Linked DNA regions of Homo sapiens: regions 2, 3, 4, 5, 6 and 7 are each linked to region 1. The links are contacts of gene promoters, found by promoter capture Hi-C in blood cells and fetal thymus (Javierre and others, 2016). All regions are on one chromosome and are shown on one strand. The core of a region is centred on a gene start or on the middle of the fragment in contact, and the rest is flanking DNA. Distances in the headings are between cores, read along the strand shown.

Region 1 (2,700 bases), core at 96-2,595:
TCTACCCTTATTATCGTAACCCAGCTACTCATCCCAATAATGCTGCACATCTATACTGGTATATCTGTAACCGTGCAGCACTCTTACCTTCTTGAACCAACAAAATCAGCCTATCTCCGACCTCAAAGTAGGGCAGCAGTAAGGAGGTGGGAATAAACATTTGAAAATGAATATTTCCACTAACTAGTAAATGTGGCCAAAATACTATTGAAAATACCATTCAAAATGCATGAATTTTAGCTCAGTTTTTATATAGTTCTGAAGAAGTACCAATACTATTTTGGCATTTCGTAGCACCAACCACGTCCGAAGCGCTCCAACTTTCAAGTCTGAGCTTGTCTCTGAAGAAGTTGCCCGTGCAGCCTCCATGAATACCACACACCAAATACTAACTGCTTTTTAACAGATCCAGCAACGCTGCTGTTTCCATTTTCTCCATCCTATTTATGCCCACATGAACTTTTTTCTTATTAGATAATTAGTAACTTGAAGGCAGAGACCTGTTTTACAGGCTGCAAACCCCAGGGACCGAGACAGCACTTAACGCCTACAAGGTCCAAACCGACGCCAACGATTAAGCGCACAAAGGAAAGGTGTAATATACATCATTTCGTTTAGTCCTCCCTGCAGCCTCATGTAGTAGTTACTATTAATCAACCCCATTTCACAGGTGATCAAAGGTAAGCTCAGAAAGGTGAAGTTGCCTGCCCAGGTCACAAGGTAGGACCAGGATTCCAAGCCTGATCGGTCTGGATACGAACGCTCTACCCACGCGGCTTTCCCCCTACACTCTCGGGATCACCACACACTTCCCCTTGGCTTTTACACCGGAGGCTCGACCTGGGTCCCGGAACCAGCGAAGCCACTGGGCAAGCCTAGAGGCCTCTACAGAGGCTAGAGACGCCTCGCCCCACCAGATGCATTAGGATGAAACGCGCCGAACCGAAGGTTTAGAGCGCCAGGGGAGAAGAGGGGCGGGGAGAGCAGGCTCTTTGACCCAGAGGAGGGAGGATCTCCACACCCGGCCACTCTGGCGCTGGGGCGCAACACTGAGGCCGGCGGGAAGCCGAGCCTGCCCGCGAAGAGACTGGGGATTCCGAGGCGGCTCCTGGGAGACCGGACGCGCGCGGCCTCCGCCGCTCCCAGTCCCGCCAGACCCGATGCCGGGCTGGAGAAGCGCGGGGGCCGACGCACCTCGGATAGGCGGGGGCAGGGGCAGGGGCAGCTCTCCTTTACCCTAGAGCGGCGACAGAAGCTCTTCGGGGGATCAGTGGCCAAGGGGGCGGACAGATTTGCACGGCGGATTCCTCCGAAGCAACCCGTGTGAAAGAAGCCAAGCGGCGGCTGCAGCCCGGGCCGCGATGGGGGTGACACCGCCCGTGGTCCCGCCCCTTCCCGTGGCCCCTCGGAGCCACTTCCGGCGGCAGCGTCCGGGCTAGTTCCCGGCGCGAGCGGCCGCGGGCCAGTTTCTATCTCCTCATCCAGGGCTTGCGGGCGAGGCCTGTTTTAAGTCTCCAGTAACCGAGCGGAGGCCCGGCAGGCGCGACCCGGGCTGCGTACGTCAGAGCTGCCTCCGAAGTGGTAAAATGTGCTGCGAGAAGTGGAGCCGCGTGGCGGAAATGTTTCTCTTCATTGAGGAGCGGGAGGATTGTAAGATACTGTGCCTTTGCTCCAGGGCATTTGTGGAGTAAGTAGAAAAGAGAATCTCTTCATGTTCTAGCACAGTCATTACCCAGAAATGTAGGTATTGCAAACGTGGTTGTAATTGATCCCTGAAAGCAGCCAGAACATCTGACCCTTGGGCACGGTGATGTTTAAGAAAAACAAAACCCTCAGACATGACGGAGTGGTCGCCCACTGCCATTATTTTTATGTGAAGGACTACATCTACTTGGTAGGCTGCTATGAAAAAATGTCGTAGGTGCTATATGTCATCTCATATTTGTAAATCGAGGGGACATTTAAAAATTGGGGGAAAGCGACATGTAAAATGAAATCTCTAGTAGATATGATGTCATAAAGTGAAAGTTTAAAGTTGAGTGACTTGCTTTGGTTAACGTCTTTTTTTAAACCTAAAAATCTACTTAAGCCCAAATGCACATAATTAAAACTTCAAACTAGTTGAGATAAAAGACTTAACCATATTTACATCAGTTTTTGTGATATCTTTATTTTGGGGAAATCTTTGAATCAGGTAAAAATTGCCCCACATGAAAAATAGCTAGTATGCAGGAATAATACCGCCAAGAGACTTGAATTCTAGGAATTGTTTCCTTTATATTAAATGCGTGAGTTAAACCACTTGAACCTTTTTTTCATCTCTATAACGGGTATATTTAATCTCACATGCTTATTTTGTTAGAGTTAAATCCTTGTGGAAGTGAATTTTATGTGATAGACTTTTAATATAGTTTAATATAGTAGGATTTAAGTTTGAAGGAATTCATTTTTCTCGTGTAATTTTGTGGAGTAATTTGAAAACGCAAAAAGAAGTTAAACTTGTTAAATTTAATGTAAAAAGTATTGTCGCCTTTTTAGTCAGGCATGCATGTAGTCATACAATCATTCAGAAAATGTTTTTTGTGCTCTTGTATATCAAGTATGCTGGTAGGCACTGAGGTACAAGACATTCTGTCCTTACATGTATTGAGTTTACTTCCTAGCAGAGAAGATCAATATTAAGATAACTGGTTACATTAT
Region 2 (2,700 bases), core at 30-2,529, 1.2 Mb after region 1:
CGCCCCATCACTCCCTCCCAGGAAAGGCCGAGTTGCGCCGCGAAGACCACCAACGCCGCCCCGCGCGCCTGACTCGCCAGGCAGCGCGCTCTAGGTTCTTCCGCCGGCCGGCTGGTCCGACTTCCACGTTAGCCTACGGCCGCGAGGTGAAAGGGGAGCGTGGGTGTGTATCCGGGTTACGCGACGGGGCGGGGCGAGGGCGAGGGCGAGGGGCGGGGAGAGCTGGGCACCTCCCCTTGGGGCGGGGCGGGGCGGGACAGGAGGCGCTGGACTGAGCTGCCTTCCTTGGTCTGGGTGGGAAGGTATTCCTGGAAGTGGCGAGCAGCAATCCGCACAGGACAGTGTGCTGTGCTGAGTGCCTTGTGGGTGTTTAAATTAAATATCCCATTGTACGACTATGGCTGGCTGTAATAAACCCACAGTAACAGTCTAGTCTTCTCATCACTCTCAGATTATTGAGGAATGGAGGAAAACACAATAAACCATTTTAAAAGATTGATTTGCAAGCTTTTTTAGCCAGCGGGGGTGTAGACAGCCTGTACCTTTAAGTCGCTTCTCCGCGCTCTTCCCGGCAGGACGGGGAACTGGGCGGTGAGGGGAAGAATTGTACTTGGCTCTTCATTCTGTTGACATCTTTGTCGTGCCCTAAATGCTTATGTGTGTATAGAGTTTCTCTCCTCCACCTGCCAGAATAAACCATCCTCGAAGCAGCTGAAAAACATGCCTTGATCCGGGTTTTTCATAATGAAAGAAAGCAAACCAGGCTTCTCTCATTTCCAAGGGTACTCGAGCCTGGCTCTCCTACCAGAGCTTAAGAAGAGGAATTGCTTGACAGAGTCCACTTAAAATAGAGGTTATCCGGAGATGGTCAGTCTAGAACATGTAATCTTTGAGTCAGCGTAGGCTCTCGAAGTATTTTGACAGAAATAACTACCTTCTACTATAACACCGATCTTAGCTAGAATGATAGTGAATACTTTATAAGTATTCATGAGTTTATCTTTAATCTTAAAAGTGAATATTAAGATGTATAGTATTGTTCTTAAATGTTAAAATATCTATATAAATCAACTTAAAATGTAGCCTGTTTTACTGTTCATAGCAAAACAGCATTGGTTTTAAGTGGACTTTAGAATTAACCACCTGAAAAACTGCAAGTATACCAAACTTCTAAACATCCATTGCTAAGCAAGTCATGTAGAGCCTGACCTTTACCGCTTACTTAGAGTTCAGGGCATCCCTAGAATTTGCATGTGATTATACACATACAACAAAAGCACTGCCAGATTATACACATACAACAAAAGCACTGTGATTTCCCTGCCAGAATCACAGCACAAAATCAAGTACAAATACAAATCAGTGAAAGAACAATCCCTAGAGTATTGACAGCACCAGAACTTAAAGAACTAGCATTGCCTTTCTTGTCAGCTTTTGAGAGTAACTTTGCAATGAAGCAAAGCTGCTTTCAAATATCTAAAAGTGAATGTCACAGAGTAATTCTCAAAACCCATCCCAGGGATAAAGATAAACATCAGGGTTGAAATATAAAGGTTTAAGTTAAACAGAACCACCCCAACCTACACTATGACAGCAGCAAAAAGATGAGTTGGATAGTAATCATGTCAATATTAAAAGCATCATTGGGAAGTCTGAGATTTCTCAAAATAAACGGAATAATATTTTCCAAGGATATTGGAGAATAATATAGGGTCACATTCAGTGTGGCAGTATACACAGTATACCACTGAGGGAAATACTAAAAGCTCTGGAGCATTTCTACTGCAAAAAAGGGATTTAAGACTTGAGGGAGAAAATGCCAAGGTATGTGGAAAGAAGGAGTCACTTGAAAGATTGTAGCTCCAAGAGGCGTTCTAGCACTCAAGTGATAATTGATCATAGAGAATGGGTATTAACAGATAACATTTAATCGACAAAAGAAGTTATGACAATAAGAAAACATTTGATTAATTACATGTGGTACAGTGATGTCAGAAAACCTTTATAGGAATTTGATTGAAAGAAACTTGTTTTTTTAGTATCAAGTTGTCAGAAGCTTCAAACAATGCATACATACACATGAAAATTATATGGCTTTCATATTAAGATTGTGGACAGTCTGTTCCTAAAACATAATCTACATCTATTCTTAAAATTGTTTTCCCCAAGATTTTGAAATAAACAATTAAATGTGTTAACTTTTAGGCCGGGCGCGGTGGCTCATGCCTGTAATCCCAGCACTTTGGGAGGCCGAGGTGAGTGGATCACGAGGTCAGGAGATCGAGACCATCCTGGCTAACACGGTGAAACCCCGTCTGTACTAAAAATACAAAAAAATTAGCCGGGTGTGGCGGCGGGCGCGTGTAGTCCCAGCTACTCGGGAGGCTGAGGCGAGAAATGGCATGAAACCGGGAGGCGGAGCTTGCAGTGAACCGAGATCGCGCCACCGCACTCCAGCCTGGGCGACAGAGTGAGACTCCGACTCCGTCTCAAAAAAAAAAAAAAAAAAAAAAAGAAACAAAAAAGAAAAAAAAAGGAAATGTGTTAACTTTTTAAATTAAAGCAAAATAATTATGTAGGCTGATGCAAGTAAGACAACTTGAAACTGCAACTAGAAACTATACCCAATGAAAAACCCTGCCTTAAAAGATAGACAAGTGGATATATTTTTACTTGTTTTAGGTTCAATTGTTAAGCTGT
Region 3 (2,700 bases), core at 179-2,678, 1.6 Mb before region 1:
GTCCTCCAGACCCCAGAATGGTAGATCCACCAACAGCTTGCACCATGTGCCTGGAAAAGATGCAGGTACTCAATGCCAGCCCATGAAGGCAGCCAGGAGGGAGGCTGTACCCTGCAAAGCCACAGGGAGGGAGCTGTCCAAGACCATGGGAACCCACCTCTTGCATCAGCGTGACCTGGATGCGAGACCTGGAGTCAAAGGAGATCATTTTGGAGCTTTAAAATGTGACTGCCCTGCTGGATTTCAGACTTGCATGGGCCCTGTAACCCCTTTGTTTTGGCCCATTTCTCCCATTTGGAATGGCTGTATTTACCCAATACCTGTACCCCCATTGTATCTAGGAAGTAACTAGCTTGCTTCTGATTTTACAGGCTCATAGGCGGAAGGGACTTGCCTTGTCTCAGATGAGACTTTGGGCTGTGGACTTTCGGGTTAATGCTGAAATAAGACTTTGGGGGACTGTTGGGAAGGTATGATTGGTTTTGAAATGTGAGGACATAAGATTTGGAGGGGCCAAGGGTGGAATGATATGGTTTGGCGGTGTCCCCACCAAAATCTCAATTTGAATTGTATCTCCCAGAATTCCCACGTATTGTGGGAGGGCACCAGAGGGAGGTAATTGAATCATGGGGGCCGGTCTTTCCCATGCTATTCTCGTGGTGGTGAATAAGTCTCACAAGATCTGACGGGTTTATCAGGGGTTTCCGCTTTTGCTTCTTCCTCATTTTTCTCTTGCCCCTTGCCACGCAAGAAGTGCCTTTTGCCTCCCACCATAATTCTGAGGCCTCCCCAACCATGTGGAACTGTAAGTCCAATTAAACCTCTTTTTCTTCCCAGTCTCAGGTATGTCTTTATCAGCAGTGTGAAAACGGACTAATACACATGGTAATTCCATGTTTAACTTTTTGAGGAACAGCCAAACTGTTCTCCACAGTGGCTGCACCATTTTACATTCCTGCCAGCCGCTCATGAAGCTTCCAATTTTTCCATATCTTTGCCAAGATTTATTATTGTCTGTCTTTTTGATTGTAGCCTTTCTAGTGGGTGTGGAGTGGTATTTCATTGTGGTTTTGATTTGCATTTCCCTAGTAATTAACGGTATTGATAATCACTTTCATGAACTTATTTGCCACTTGTATGTTTTCTTTGGATAAATGTCTTTTCCGGTCCTTTGCCTATTTTAAAATGGTACCATTTGTCTTTTTATTGAATTATAATAATATTTATGTATTCTGGATACTAGATCCTTATTATATATATTATTTGCAAATATTTTCTCTCATTCTGTGTATTGTCTTTTCACTTTCTTGACAGTGTCTTTTAATAAACAAAAGTTTTTAATTTCAATGAAGTCTAAATTATCTATTTTTTCTTTTTTTTTTTTGCCTGTGGTTTTGTTGTCACATCTAAGTTATGATTACCTAATGCTAAGTCATGCAGATTTACTCCTAGGTCTTAAAATTCTCTGTTTTCTAGCTTTAGCTTTTCATTTGAGCATTTAATACTTTTGAGTTAATGTTTGTATGTGATGTGAGGCAAGAGTCCAACTTTATTCTTTTGCATGTGGTATCAAGTTGTCCCAGCAACATTTACTGAAAAGAAATATTCTGTTCCCATTGAATTGTCTTGTATCTTTGTAGAAAATCAGTTGGCCATAAGTGCCATTGAGCTATATATGTCTAACTTTATACACTTGATACATAAAGTCTTATACAGTCTTGATTACTGTAGTTTTGTAGTAAGTTTTGAAAATAAGAAATCCTAGCCTTATTCTTCTTTTTCAAGATGGTTTTGACTCCTCTGGGCCCCTTGAATTTCCATACAAATTTGAGAATCACCTTGCCAATTTCTGCAAAAATGGCAGCTTGCATTTTGATAAATGCAAGCTTTAAATTTGTAGATCAATTCAGAGAATATGGCTATTTTAACAATACTAAGTCTTCTAGCCAGACATGGTGGCTCACTTCTGTAATTCCAGCACTTTGGGAGACCAAAGTGGGAGGATCACTTAAGCCCAGGGGTTTGGGACCAGCCTAGGCAACATAGTGAAACTCCATCTTTACAAAAAAGTAAAAAATAAAAAATTAGCTGGTGGAACATGCCTATAGTCTCAGGTACCTGAGGGACAGGCAGAGGCTAAGGTGAATCCCTTGAGCCCTGGAGGTTGAGGCTGCAGTGAGCCATGATTGTGCCACTGTACTCCACCTTGAGTGACAAAGTGAGACCATGTCTCAAAAAAAAAAGTCGTCTAATCCATGAACATGGGCTATCTCTTATCAGTATGTGTTTTTGTCTTTTATTCTATTAATTTGGTGTATTACATTGATAGATTTTCAGATATTAAACCAACCTTGTATACCTGGGATAAATTCCACTTGGTCATAGTATATAATCCTCTTTTATATGTTGCTGAATTTGGATTGCTTGTATTTTGTTGAGTTTTGCATGTATCATTTAAAATATATTTGTAGTTTTTTGTGATGTCTTTGGTATCAGTGTTATACTAGGCAAATAGAATGATTTCGAAGTGTTTCCTCCTCTTTTTTTTTTTGAAGAATTTTTGAAGAATTGGCATTAATTCTTTAAATATTTGGTAGAATTCACCAGTGAAGTCATCTGACCCTGGGCTATTCTTTGTGGGAAGTTTTTGATTAATAATTCTCTTGTTATACATCTTTTCAGATTTTCTATTCTTTTTTA
Region 4 (2,700 bases), core at 69-2,568, 1.8 Mb before region 1:
AGTGAGCCGAGATCAAGCCATTGCACTCCAGCTTGTGCAACAAGAGTTAAACTCCGTCTCGAAAAAATATGTTTAGCTAAGAACAGATGAGTCTGAAGCAAGGGACTGAAAGTGCCACACAAATGGGCAAGCTGTAGAAACTGGTCGTATGAGGATTTCTTACAAACCACAAAAGCATATGCTTACATGAATATTCATCAATAACAAAAAAAATGCCACCAGTATTAACTGTAAACCACTTAGAAAATACCCAACAATATAATTTGTCCAAATCCCTCTACCAGCATTCCGGTGAGTGTGCGTGCTGTAGTCCTAACTCTTCTGTACATTACGACAGGACAAAACCCGCTTTTTATAAAACGTTTAGCAACTCGCCAAGAAACTGGCACACTTTACCTTTTTAATCGCTAAGCAAACATGTAGCACAGTTGAGATAACCAGGCGGACGTTCAGCCCTCTTCAAAAATAAGACACAGAAGTTTTACATTTTACCAGCCCGATGTCTAATACCGATCACAAGCCTCTATTTGATGCTCTTTCTAGATGTTGGCCACGGATCACGGAAGACTCCATTCTTTCAAGTTCTGAGGACTTTCTACGCTTCAATTCCTAAGCTAAATTGCCAAGGTTTTACTAGCACGAAAGTTTAAAGTCAACGGAGAGCGTGCCCTAATCCCTAAATCGATTAGGTTTATTACACGGCACCAGCGAGCAGGGACTGGAAATACAAGAGCGAGCGGGTCCTAACGCAGGTTGCCGCGGGACCCGACGCCCCGGGCCCGGACACCCTCCCCGGGGACGCGGGCGCGGCGGGCCCGGCTCCCAGACGGGAGGCTGCAGGGGGAGGGGAGGGAGAAGGAGGGAGGGGGCGGCCCCCTCGGGCCGGACCGCGGCCCGGCCTCCCTCCCGGCCCGCGCCGCTCGCCGCGCTCACCGCGTTCTTCTTCTGCACCATCTTGTCCATCTTCTTGGCAAAGCGGACCACTTCGTCCTCCATGGCTCCGGCAGGTCTTCTCCGCGCCCACCCCGCTGGCAAGGGGAAGTGGGCGAAGCTGGAGCGGAAGACACAGCAGGAGCGACCCCCGGCGCGCAGCAACCCCCACCACCGCAGGCCCGGGCCTAGGCCCCCTTCCTTACGAACGAAGCCCGCGGCGGCGGCGGCGGCGGCGGCGGCTCCGGCTCCTCCTCCCCAGGCAGCGACAATCGAACACCGCGCGCGACGTGCAGGCGCTACCAACTGACTGCAGATCGCTGGTGAGGGGCGAGCCCATGTTCCCGCCAGGCGGGCGTCGGGCTAGTGGGCAGGCGTGGCTTCCGGCTAGAGGGTCGTGGAAGGCGCCCGGTTTTGCTGCGCGTTCACCTCCGGTCCCGCCCCCTCACGGGGCGGGTTTTCGGCCCCCTATTGCATCGGGACATCCCGGAGTTTTAGAACTCGCGGAGGCCCAAGTATCTCGAAACGGGGGCAGATTCCGAGCATGGAACTTTGGCAGGTTTTAAAGTCTGTGGGAAGCCAAGCACTTTCTCCATAGGAGACTGCTACGGGGAAAAATGGAACCCGTGTCCTCTAAGTTAGGTTACGGAGTTACTCGTTTTAAGAGTTCCTTTTTTTTTGAGACGGAGCCTCGTTCTGTCGCCTGGCTGGAGTACAGTGGCGCGATCTCCACTCACTGCAAGCTCCCCCCCCCGGGTTCAAGCGATTCTCCTGCTTTAGTTTCCCGAGTAGCTGGGACTACAGGCGCCCGCCACCACGCCCTGCTAATTTTTTGTATTTTTAGTAGAGACAGGGTTTCACCATGTTGGCCAGGATGGTTTTGATCTCTTGACCTAGTGATCCGCCCGCCTCGGCCTCCCAAAGTGCTGCGATTACAGACCTGAGCCACTGCACCCGGCTAAGCGTTCCTTTTTTTAAAAAAAATCGGCCGGGCGCGGTGGCTCATGCCTGTAATCCCAGCACTTTGGGAGGCCGAGGCGGGCGGATCAACTGAGGTGAGGAGTTCGAGACCAGCCTGACCAACATGGAGAAACATCGTCACTACTAAAAATACAAAATTAGCCGGGCGTCATGGCCTGTGATCCCAGCCACTCGGGAGGCTGAGGCAGGAGAATCGTTTGAACCCGGGAGGCGGAAGTTGCGGTGAGCCGAGACTGCCATTGCATTCTAGCCTGGGCGACAAGAGCGAAACTCCGTCTCAAAAAAAATAAAAAATAAATAAAGGTGAAATCGTTCGTGAGCTCCTGGAGTACTAAGAACCAGTCTTGGGCATGGCATTTTGAATAGTTGAAGAACAGTTGACGGAAACCTTCTGGTCAGAAATTACACAAGGCATCCCACCAGCTTCTGAGGATCAGAGAGGAAGGTGACTTAAGTTGTGACAGGGTTCATAGTGGAGAATGCAGGCTCCTCCAAAAAGTCTTTCCCCACTTAAACCCTTCACGACCAACTCATGCTATTTGCAGGTATAACTCCCACACCACGTAACTATCATTCATCAAAATACACCGCCTAATAATGTTCTTTCTATACTGAGATGACAGGTTTTTCCTGGTTATGACTCACTCATTTGGGGGAGAAGTATTGGGATCGTTTCCCTATTTTGTTTCATTTTTAAATTATCTTTTTATTATTGATTTCCAGCTTAAATTGTAGTATTTGTTGAGATTTATTTTGTCAATTTTTTTTTTTTTTTGACACGGAGTTTTG
Region 5 (2,700 bases), core at 131-2,630, 1.7 Mb before region 1:
TCTACTGATGCGCGCAATGAATAGGACATATTGTTTACATGGTATTTATACCAGAAATGCATAAACTGAATCTAATCATGAGTAAATACACAAACCCAAATTAAAGGACTAGCCTGTTCTCTGCAGAAGTGTCAATGTCGTGAAAGACAAAAGAAAATCTAGGGAATTGTTCCAGATTAAAAGAGACAAAAGAGACTAAAGAGACGTGATAACTAAATATAATGTATGACTAGGGAGGAGATAGCTATAAAGGATATTAATGGAACAATCTGGCAAAGGTTGAATGCATAATATATTAGATAATACTAAATGTTAAATTTAATGGGATAACTTTTCTGTGATTATATAATGTTTAAAATACCCTAGTCCTTCTCACCCACAGTTTTGTTTTCCATGGTTTCAGCTGCCCACAGTCAACTGTGGTTCGAAAATATTACATGGAAAATTCCAGAAATAAACAGTGGGGGATGCTCTAAAACCCCTAGTGGATGCCTGAATCCATGGATAACACCAAACCCTATATATACTATGTTTTTTCCTATACATAATGCTTGTGATAAAGTTTATTGTGTAAATTAGACATAGGAAGAGATTAACAATAATAAAACAATTATAACAATATGACAACATCACTTCTCTTGCACTTTGGGGCCATCATTAAGCAATGTAAGGCTTATTTGGATAAAAGCACTACAGGCTGGGCGAGGTGGCTCATGCCTGTATTCCCAGCACTTTGGGAGGCCAAGGCGGGCAGATCGCTTGAGGTCAAGAGTTCCAGACTGGCCTGGCCAACATGATGAAACCCCGTCTCTACTAAAAATACAAAAATTAGCCGGGTGTGGTGGTGCACGCCTGTAGTCCCAGCTACTCAGGAGGCTGAGGCAGGAGAGTTGCTTGAACCTGGAGAGTGGAGGTTGCAGTGAGCCATGATTGTGTCACTGCATTCCAGCCTGGGTGACAGAGCAAGACTCTGTCTCAAAAAAAAAAGCAAAACAATACCAAAACAGTTGACCTGATAACCCAGATGGCTACCAAGTGACTAACAGATGGTGAATGGATATAGCATGGATACGCTAGGTAAAGGAATGATTCGTGTCCTGGGTGAGACGGAATGAGATTTCATCACAATACTCAGAATGGTGTACAATTCAGGCCAGGCATGGTGGCTCATGCCTGTAATCCCAGCACTGCGGGAGGCCGAGGTGGGTGGATCACTAGAGGTCAGGAGTTCAAGACCACCCTGGCCAACATGGCAAAACCCCATCTCTACTAAAAATACAAAAAAATTAGCTGGACGTGGTAGCACGCGCCTGTAATCTCAGCTACGCCGGAGGCCGAGGCACAAGAATCACTTGAACCCGAGTGGCAGAGGTTGAAGGGAGCCGAGATCGTGCCACTGCACTCCAGCCTGGGTGACAGAGTGAGACTCCATCTCAAAAAATAATAATAAAATAAATAAAAAAGAATGGTGTACAATTTTAAACTTATAAAGTATTTCTGGAATTTTTCATTTAGTATTTTCAAACCACAGTTAACCACGGGTAACTGAAACCATGGGAAGCAAAACTGCAGGTAAGGGGAGACTACAATATCTTAAGTATTAAATTGCCACTTGTCAGGCTGACAGGTTCGAAGTTTCATCATGCACTCATGGAACCAATCTAGAGTCAGCCTTTCCTTAGCATTATCCCACCAAATAATTTCAGAACTGGAGACCTTTGTTTTTTCTTTTATCACAACAGGTTAAAAAGAAGGATACTTTTTTAATATAAACTTAACTTTTGGTCAAGATGTAATGGATGTTCTTGGTATTTTTGATCCTAATAGTCTTCACCATTTTTACTTTTAGCTTCAGTCTGTGGAATCTGCCTAGACTGAAGTTTTTTTTTTTTTGCTTGAACTAATCATTCAGGCATAGAAGTGCTCATTATTGGCAAAGTTAGAGGATAGCAACCTTCTCCCTGACTTGCAACATCAAGAAAGGTTTGGCCATAAAATAGAGATTCTGCTATTCGAGTTTCATTTGGTAAAATAAGTTCATCATTTTCACAGGACCACTGGATTGCCAGAAAGAGTGCTGCAACCTTTTCTGTAACTCCATACAAAGTTTGTATTACATAACTCGACTTATTAGGCAAAAAATAGGAATCACTTTTAAGTGGTGGCTCACGCCTGTAATCCCAGCACTTTGGGAGGCTCAGGTGGGTGGATCATTTGAGGTCAGGAGTTCGAGACCAGCGTAACCAACATGGCAAAACTCTGTCTCTACTAAAAATACAAAAATTAGCTGGCATGGTGGCAAGCAACTGTAGTCCCAGCTACTCGGGAGACCCAGGAACCCAGAAGGTGGAGGTTGCAGTGAGTCAAGATCACGCCACTGCCCTCCAGCCAGGGCAACACAGCAGACCCTGTCTCCAAACAAACAAACAAAAATCTAGCCTAATGGCATTTTTTTTTTTTTTGAGTCTCACTCTGTGGCCCAGGCTGGAGTGCAGTCGTGCAATCTTGGCTCACTGAAGCCTCTGCCTCCCAGGTTCAAGTGATTCTCTTCTCTCAGCCTCCCTAGCAGCTGGGATTACAGGCATGCACCACCACACCCGGGTAATTTTTATATTTTTAGTAGAGATGGGGTTTCACCATATTGGCCAAGCTGGTGTCGAACTCTTGACATCAAGTGAACTACCCACCTCGGCCTCCCAA
Region 6 (2,700 bases), core at 43-2,542, 1.1 Mb before region 1:
TCAGGAGGGAAGAGGGGAACTTATTTCTTTAAATTAGCCCATCTACAACCCCCACAAGAAAGCCTAAGGGATAATGTCCACAGAGCTTAATAAAGGCATACACAGTCCCAGAGATTTCCCCGTCCCTCTCTCCCAAAAGTTCTGTCTCACAACCTCCCTCCTTCCCTTTCTCCCTCTTCCTCTCCTCCCCACTGACCCCTTGCTGATTGAGCTCCCTGCTGCCTCTTTCTGTTGGCACCCCTAACCTTTCTGGGAACTGTGAATAATAAACACTTATGTTTTGCGCATTTCCATTTCACTTCATTGTGTCTCATTTGGCATAGATGCTCTTAACGTAGCCTTCTTTTTGGTCAGAGCTATCTTAGAGAGTGGCTGTCTTGACAGGAATAATCTGGATACAGGTCAGGCAAGACCCACAAGGGTGTCTGCCTGAAAAAACAGTTTGTTGTGAGAGGGACACCTAGTCATGGGTCAGACACTTAGGCAATAGGCATCCTTCAGGATAAAGAGGCATCCCATGGAAGGCGCACTGTCAACATCCACAACAAAATCCTTTGAATTTCTGGCAAGGGCAAGGCTGGAGCTTATGGCCACTCTCAAGAAAAACCTCAAGACCAAATTAGAAAGAAACCATCATAAAAATCACAACAGTTGGCTGTGCATGGTGGCTCACGCCTGTAATCCCAGCACTTTGGGAGGCCAAGGCAGGTGGATCACCTGAGGTCAGGAGTTCAAGACCAGCCTGGCCAACATGGTGAAACCCGTTCTTTACTAAAAATATAAAAATTAGCTGGGCCTGGTCGTGGGCGCCTGTAATCCTAGCTACTCGGGAGGCTGAGGCAGGAGAGTCTCTTGAACCCGGTAGGTGGAGGTAGCAGTGAGCTGAGATTACGCCACTGTACCCCAGCCTGGGCGGCAAGAGCAAAACTCCCTCTCAAAAAACAAAAACAAAAAACACACTTGCATACATATGTATCCCATTTATTCTCATGGATGTGGTATAGAGAATCCAAAAGAATAATTTCATGTCATTTAAATGACATTGGAGTTTGTTTTAGACATATATTTCAATATAGGTCTGTTAGTGGAAATTCTCAGTCAAAAAGACATTATATGAAGAATAACTAGGACCAAGAGAAAGTTCTCTAGATTTGTTATTTTATGCCTTTGCTTACTTTCTCCCTGTTCACCTATTAGTTTGCACCAGTCTGCACAATGGGCTCTGTCCTGTCACCCTTCCAGGAGGCATGGTGTAGCATAGCATTATGGAGATTGTCTGGTGCTCTTCCTTCAGCAGGTTGATGTTGAGGTTAGCCTTGTATGCCCTGTTCGGTATCCTGCTAGGAACTTGTGGACCTCATCTGGATCAACAGATAGAGTCTCATGAAATATCTGGTTGTCATGAAATGTCAAAGTATGTAGAGTGCTATGTAATAGCTCGATAGGACTGATTGAACTCCTGGGTGGTCCTGAGTGGGTTAGGAAAGGGGTCCACAGTGAGTGCCTAGCTGGACAAGTCTCTGCATACAGCTGACCACCTAGGCATTAAGAGCCAGAACCACACAGTAGACCTGCACTGGCAGGCTATCCAGCATAGAAGTTTTACTTTTTCAATGGTGAACTCTTCCATTTGCATTTTTATTTCTTATCAAAGTTATACATTTATAACTAGTTTTAATCAGAAGTGCATAGCTCAAAATAAAAAATAGACCACTTTCTGACCCTGTACATGCCTAATTCCCACTCCAGAGGCATCTTTCTTGAAAATATTTAGCTGTTTTTCTGCTGTTTATTTCTGTATTTAGAGACATACTGCTTTTTTTTTCAATTTTAGATTTTGTGTATTGACATTTCACCTTCAGCCTCCCACTTCATATCTCTGCCAATATAATTTTTTTTATTAAATTACAGGGCTTTCATTAATAACCATGTAAATATGTAAATATTTTCCTCAGCTGAGCCTTTTAGTGTATCCTGACTACATTTTCTTTTTTGAACTATTTTTTGTTTTCCTTGGATTAAAAATGGACTACCATTTATTACTGAACTCTTCCCCAGGGCTGACTCTGTCAGCATAAAAGTGCACATCTATTCTATTTTTTTCCCTTGGGGACATTATTTTTCTTGAAGGCATTCCTTGGGGAAGTCCCTTCCCAACTCCTCTACCCAGCTCCCTCCTCATCCGACGTGAACTGCTTCAATCCAGGTCAGCTGTGCAGTTGTCATCCTGAGCTATCCCTCAGCAACATCCTGGGAATCTCCTTTTCCTCTCTATATTGAATGTCTTGTTTATTGAAATCTTAGTTTAGGCCTCAGTTTAGGTGGAGAAAATTCTCTTATAGTTTATAATAAGGGGTGCATGGGAGTTCTTTTTTGATTCTTGAATGTATGAAAATATCTTTTGGCAGGTGGATTGCCTGAGCTTGTGAGTTCGAGACGAGCCTCGGCAACACAGTGAAACCCTGTCTCTACTAAAATACAAAAGATTAGCCAGGCATGGTGTTGTGCACCTGTAATCTCAGCTACTTGGGAGGCTGAGACAGGAGAATCACTTGAACCCAGGAGGTGGAGGTTGCAGTGAGCCGAGATCGCGCCACTGCACTCCAGCCTGGGCGACAGAGTGAGACTCCATCTCAAAAAAAAAAAAAAAACATACCGTTATTCTCATGTTTAATGGATAAAAATTATATGGCCTTATAC
Region 7 (2,700 bases), core at 141-2,640, 1.8 Mb before region 1:
ATGAGGGGCACGGTGGCTCACACCTGTAATCCCAGCACTTTGGGAGGCTGAGGCGGGCGGCTCACGAAGTCAGGAGTTTGAGACCAGCCTGGCCAATATAGTAAAACTGTCTCTACTAAAAAAAAAAAACAAAAAACAAACAAACAAACAAAAAACAAATTAGCTGGGCGTGGTGGCAAGCGCCTGTAGTCCCAGCTACTCGGGAGGCTGAGACAGAAGAATCACTTGAACCCAGAAGGCAGAAGTTGCAGCGAGCCACGATCACACCACTGCGCTCCAGCTTCCAGCCTGGGCGACAGAGCAAGACTGTCTCCAAAAAGAAAAAAAAAGGGCGGGTATGGTGGCTCACGCCTGTAATCCCAGCACTCTGGGAGGCCGAGGTGGGTGGATCACGAGGTCGGGAGATTAAGACCATCCTGGCTGACACGGTGAAACCCCATCTTTAAAAAGTACAAAAAATTAGCTGGGCATGGTGGCACGCACCTGTAGTCCCAGCTACTTGGGAGACTAAGGCAGGAGAATTGCTTGAACCCGGGAGGTAGAGGTTGCAGTGAGCCGAGATTGCACCACTGCACTCCAGCCTGGGTAACAGAACAAGACTCCGTCTCAAAAAAAAAAAGAAAAAAAAGAAATGAAGCTGCTGAGGTAGAATGAAAAACAAAGATTTGAAATAAGTTTTTCTTTTTTCCTTTGGGGGTACCATGGAAAAAATGAAAAAAAAAAAAAGTAGAGGAAAAGATTATGAAGCTATTTACTTGGATAAGCAAGTCTGAAGTTGACTCTATGAATTCCCTAGAGATTTTTCCTAAAATTGGTATGCTAAGACTTACAAGATGTAATAGATAGGTTATACGAAAGTATTCTGTGCTCAAGTGACCTTAGGAATTGTGGGATTATAACTGTTTTCTTGACTGCAGGACTAATGAAAGCTTTCAGGACAAACTATACATCGTGAAACTCTAGCAGATAAAATATGTGCCTTTGCCTATGATTTCTATAGAACATCAGGTATACAGAAAGAAAGACATTACCTTGGAAAGGTGGAGAGTGCATTAAGCAGCCTTAGGGGTCAGCTGCACACTGATGGAAAAGCAGAAAGGAATGAGTACTGAGATCAAGAGACACTGTTAACATCACAGGAAACAAGCAGATTTGGTGTGCTCCAGAAGAAAAGTCTCCTTTGTGATCACTCATGAGTTTTTGCCAAGATGATCTCAAGGTAGCCACTAAATCTTAAGGTAAAAAACATATAGCTACTGTACAGCTACTATAAAACACATATGTAAAACATACATTTAAAACACACATATATAAAAGAAACACACAGCTACTATAAAACATTTTTGAAAGAAATTAAAGATGACCCAAACAAAATTTTTAAATCTCATGTCGATAGACCGGAAGACTTAAATGTTAAGACTGCAATACTAATCAAGTCGAACTACTGACTCAATGCAATGCCTATCAGAATCCCATCTGCCTTTAGTGTAGAAATTGACAAGCGTACCCTAAAGTCCATACAGAAATGCAAAGGACCCAAAACAGCCAAAACAATCTTGAAAAAGAAGAACAAAGTTGGAGCACTCACAATTCCCTATAGTAACCAAGATAGCATAGTACTGGCAAAAGGATGGACGCGCAGATCAATGGGATAAATTTAAGACTCCAGAAATAAATTCCTACATTTTTCATCAACTGATTTTAGATAAGGATATCAAGACAATTCATTGGAGAAAAGAATATTCTTTTTAACAAATGGTGCTGGAACAACTAGACATCCACATGTAAAAGAATAAACCTGAACCTCTTCCTTATACCACACATAAAAATTAACTCAATATGAACAGGAGTAAAGCTTCATGACCTTGGATTAGGGAATGGTTTCTTGGATATGACACCTAAGGCGCAAGCAATCAAAGAAAAAATAGAATATATCAAAATTTAAAACTTTTGTGCTTCAATGAACACCATCGAGAAAGCAAAAAGATAATTCACAGAAAAAGAGACAATATTTGCAAACTCTATGTCTGATAAGCGACTTGTATTTGGAATATATAAAGAACTATTACAACTCGATTAAAAAAAAAAAGACAATCCAATTTAAAAACGGGCAAAGGATCTGGATAGACATTTCTCCGAATAAGATATAAAAATAACCAACAAGCACATGAAAAGATATTCAACATCCTTAGACATTATGGAAATAAAAATTAAAGCTACAATGAAATACCACTACACCCACTACAATAGCTATAATCAAAAACAAACAACAACAAGTGTTTGCAAGGATGCAGAGAAACTGGACCCCTCGTTTACTGCTACTAGGGATATAAAATGGTATGGTGGCTGGAGAAAAGAGTCTGGCAGGTCCTCAAAATGTTAAACACACAGTTACCACATAAACCAGCAATACCATTCCCAGGTATCTACACAAGAACAACAAAAACATATGCTCACACAAACTTGTATATAAACACGCATAGCAGTGTGATACATAACAGCCAAAAAAGTCTAAACGCATCACCTGACAAATGGATAAACAACATGTGAAATATCCATGCAACTGAATATTATTCAGCCATAAAAAGGCCTGAAAATTCTGACATAAACTGCAACATGGATGAATCCTGAAAACATTAAGCTAAGTGACAGAAGCCAGACATCAAAGGTCAGATACTGTATGATTCCATTTATATGAAA

What was found. Contacts are between HindIII fragments. The CHiCAGO score rates a contact against its expected background, and 5 or more counts as called.
Region 2: a fragment that was not itself captured here is called in contact with the fragment with the promoter of TMEM68 in region 1 in 3 of 17 cell types (total B cells, non-activated CD4 T cells and naive CD8 T cells); the score reaches 8.5 in total B cells.
Region 3: a fragment that was not itself captured here is called in contact with the fragment with the promoter of TMEM68 in region 1 in 3 of 17 cell types (total CD8 T cells, M2 macrophages and activated CD4 T cells); the score reaches 7.5 in total CD8 T cells.
Region 4: a contact is called between the fragment with the promoter of TCEA1 here and the fragment with the promoter of TMEM68 in region 1, in 1 of 17 cell types (non-activated CD4 T cells). The highest score is 5.1, in non-activated CD4 T cells.
Region 5: a contact is called between a fragment that was not itself captured here and the fragment with the promoter of TMEM68 in region 1, in 3 of 17 cell types (non-activated CD4 T cells, activated CD4 T cells and total CD8 T cells). The highest score is 10.6, in non-activated CD4 T cells.
Region 6: a fragment that was not itself captured here is called in contact with the fragment with the promoter of TMEM68 in region 1 in 1 of 17 cell types (naive B cells); the score reaches 5.6 in naive B cells.
Region 7: a fragment that was not itself captured here is called in contact with the fragment with the promoter of TMEM68 in region 1 in 1 of 17 cell types (total CD8 T cells); the score reaches 5.4 in total CD8 T cells.

Annotation. Positions count from the first base shown.
Region 1 is chr8:55,772,033-55,774,732 of GRCh38, forward strand. TMEM68 (transmembrane protein 68) reads right to left here and starts at 1,346. Exons shown (of 8, transcript NM_001286657.2): 1 at 1,237-1,346. TGS1 (trimethylguanosine synthase 1) reads left to right here and starts at 1,414. Exons shown (of 13, transcript NM_024831.8): 1 at 1,414-1,687. The coding sequence starts at 1,587. RefSeq lists enhancers at 248-751, 1,523-1,852 and silencers at 973-1,102, 1,193-1,382. The HindIII fragment of the contact is 10,724 bases long and covers 1-2,700 here.
Region 2 is chr8:56,993,720-56,996,419 of GRCh38, forward strand. BPNT2 (3'(2'), 5'-bisphosphate nucleotidase 2) reads right to left here and starts at 148. Exons shown (of 5, transcript NM_017813.5): 1 at 1-148. RefSeq lists a silencer at 1-264. The HindIII fragment of the contact is 1,549 bases long and covers 506-2,054 here.
Region 3 is chr8:54,161,361-54,164,060 of GRCh38, forward strand. No RefSeq gene overlaps it. Among named protein-coding and RNA genes, the nearest start is that of MRPL15, 27 kb to the left of the region's middle. The HindIII fragment of the contact is 912 bases long and covers 973-1,884 here.
Region 4 is chr8:54,021,130-54,023,829 of GRCh38, forward strand. It overlaps TCEA1 (transcription elongation factor A1), which reads right to left and starts at 1,319. Exons shown (of 10, transcript NM_006756.4): 1 at 934-1,319. The coding sequence starts at 996. All of the region lies in intron 12 of LYPLA1-TCEA1 (LYPLA1-TCEA1 readthrough), which reads right to left. LOC133039971 (Uncharacterized LOC133039971) reads left to right here and starts at 904. Exons shown (of 3, transcript NR_189620.1): 1 at 904-1,253. RefSeq lists silencers at 768-937, 2,065-2,372 and enhancers at 1,058-1,851, 1,108-1,257, 1,852-2,643. The HindIII fragment of the contact is 35,827 bases long and covers 1-2,700 here.
Region 5 is chr8:54,097,246-54,099,945 of GRCh38, forward strand. All of the region lies in intron 2 of LYPLA1-TCEA1 (LYPLA1-TCEA1 readthrough), which reads right to left. All of the region lies in intron 2 of LYPLA1 (lysophospholipase 1), which reads right to left. Among named protein-coding and RNA genes, the nearest start is that of LYPLA1, 3.4 kb to the right of the region's middle. The HindIII fragment of the contact is 3,061 bases long and covers 1-2,700 here.
Region 6 is chr8:54,635,803-54,638,502 of GRCh38, forward strand. It overlaps a transcript of RP1 not described here. Among named protein-coding and RNA genes, the nearest start is that of RP1, 21 kb to the left of the region's middle. The HindIII fragment of the contact is 2,868 bases long and covers 1-2,700 here.
Region 7 is chr8:54,001,861-54,004,560 of GRCh38, forward strand. The region is part of intron 13 of LYPLA1-TCEA1 (LYPLA1-TCEA1 readthrough); the gene reads right to left. All of the region lies in intron 2 of TCEA1 (transcription elongation factor A1), which reads right to left. Among named protein-coding and RNA genes, the nearest start is that of TCEA1, 19 kb to the right of the region's middle. The HindIII fragment of the contact is 926 bases long and covers 928-1,853 here.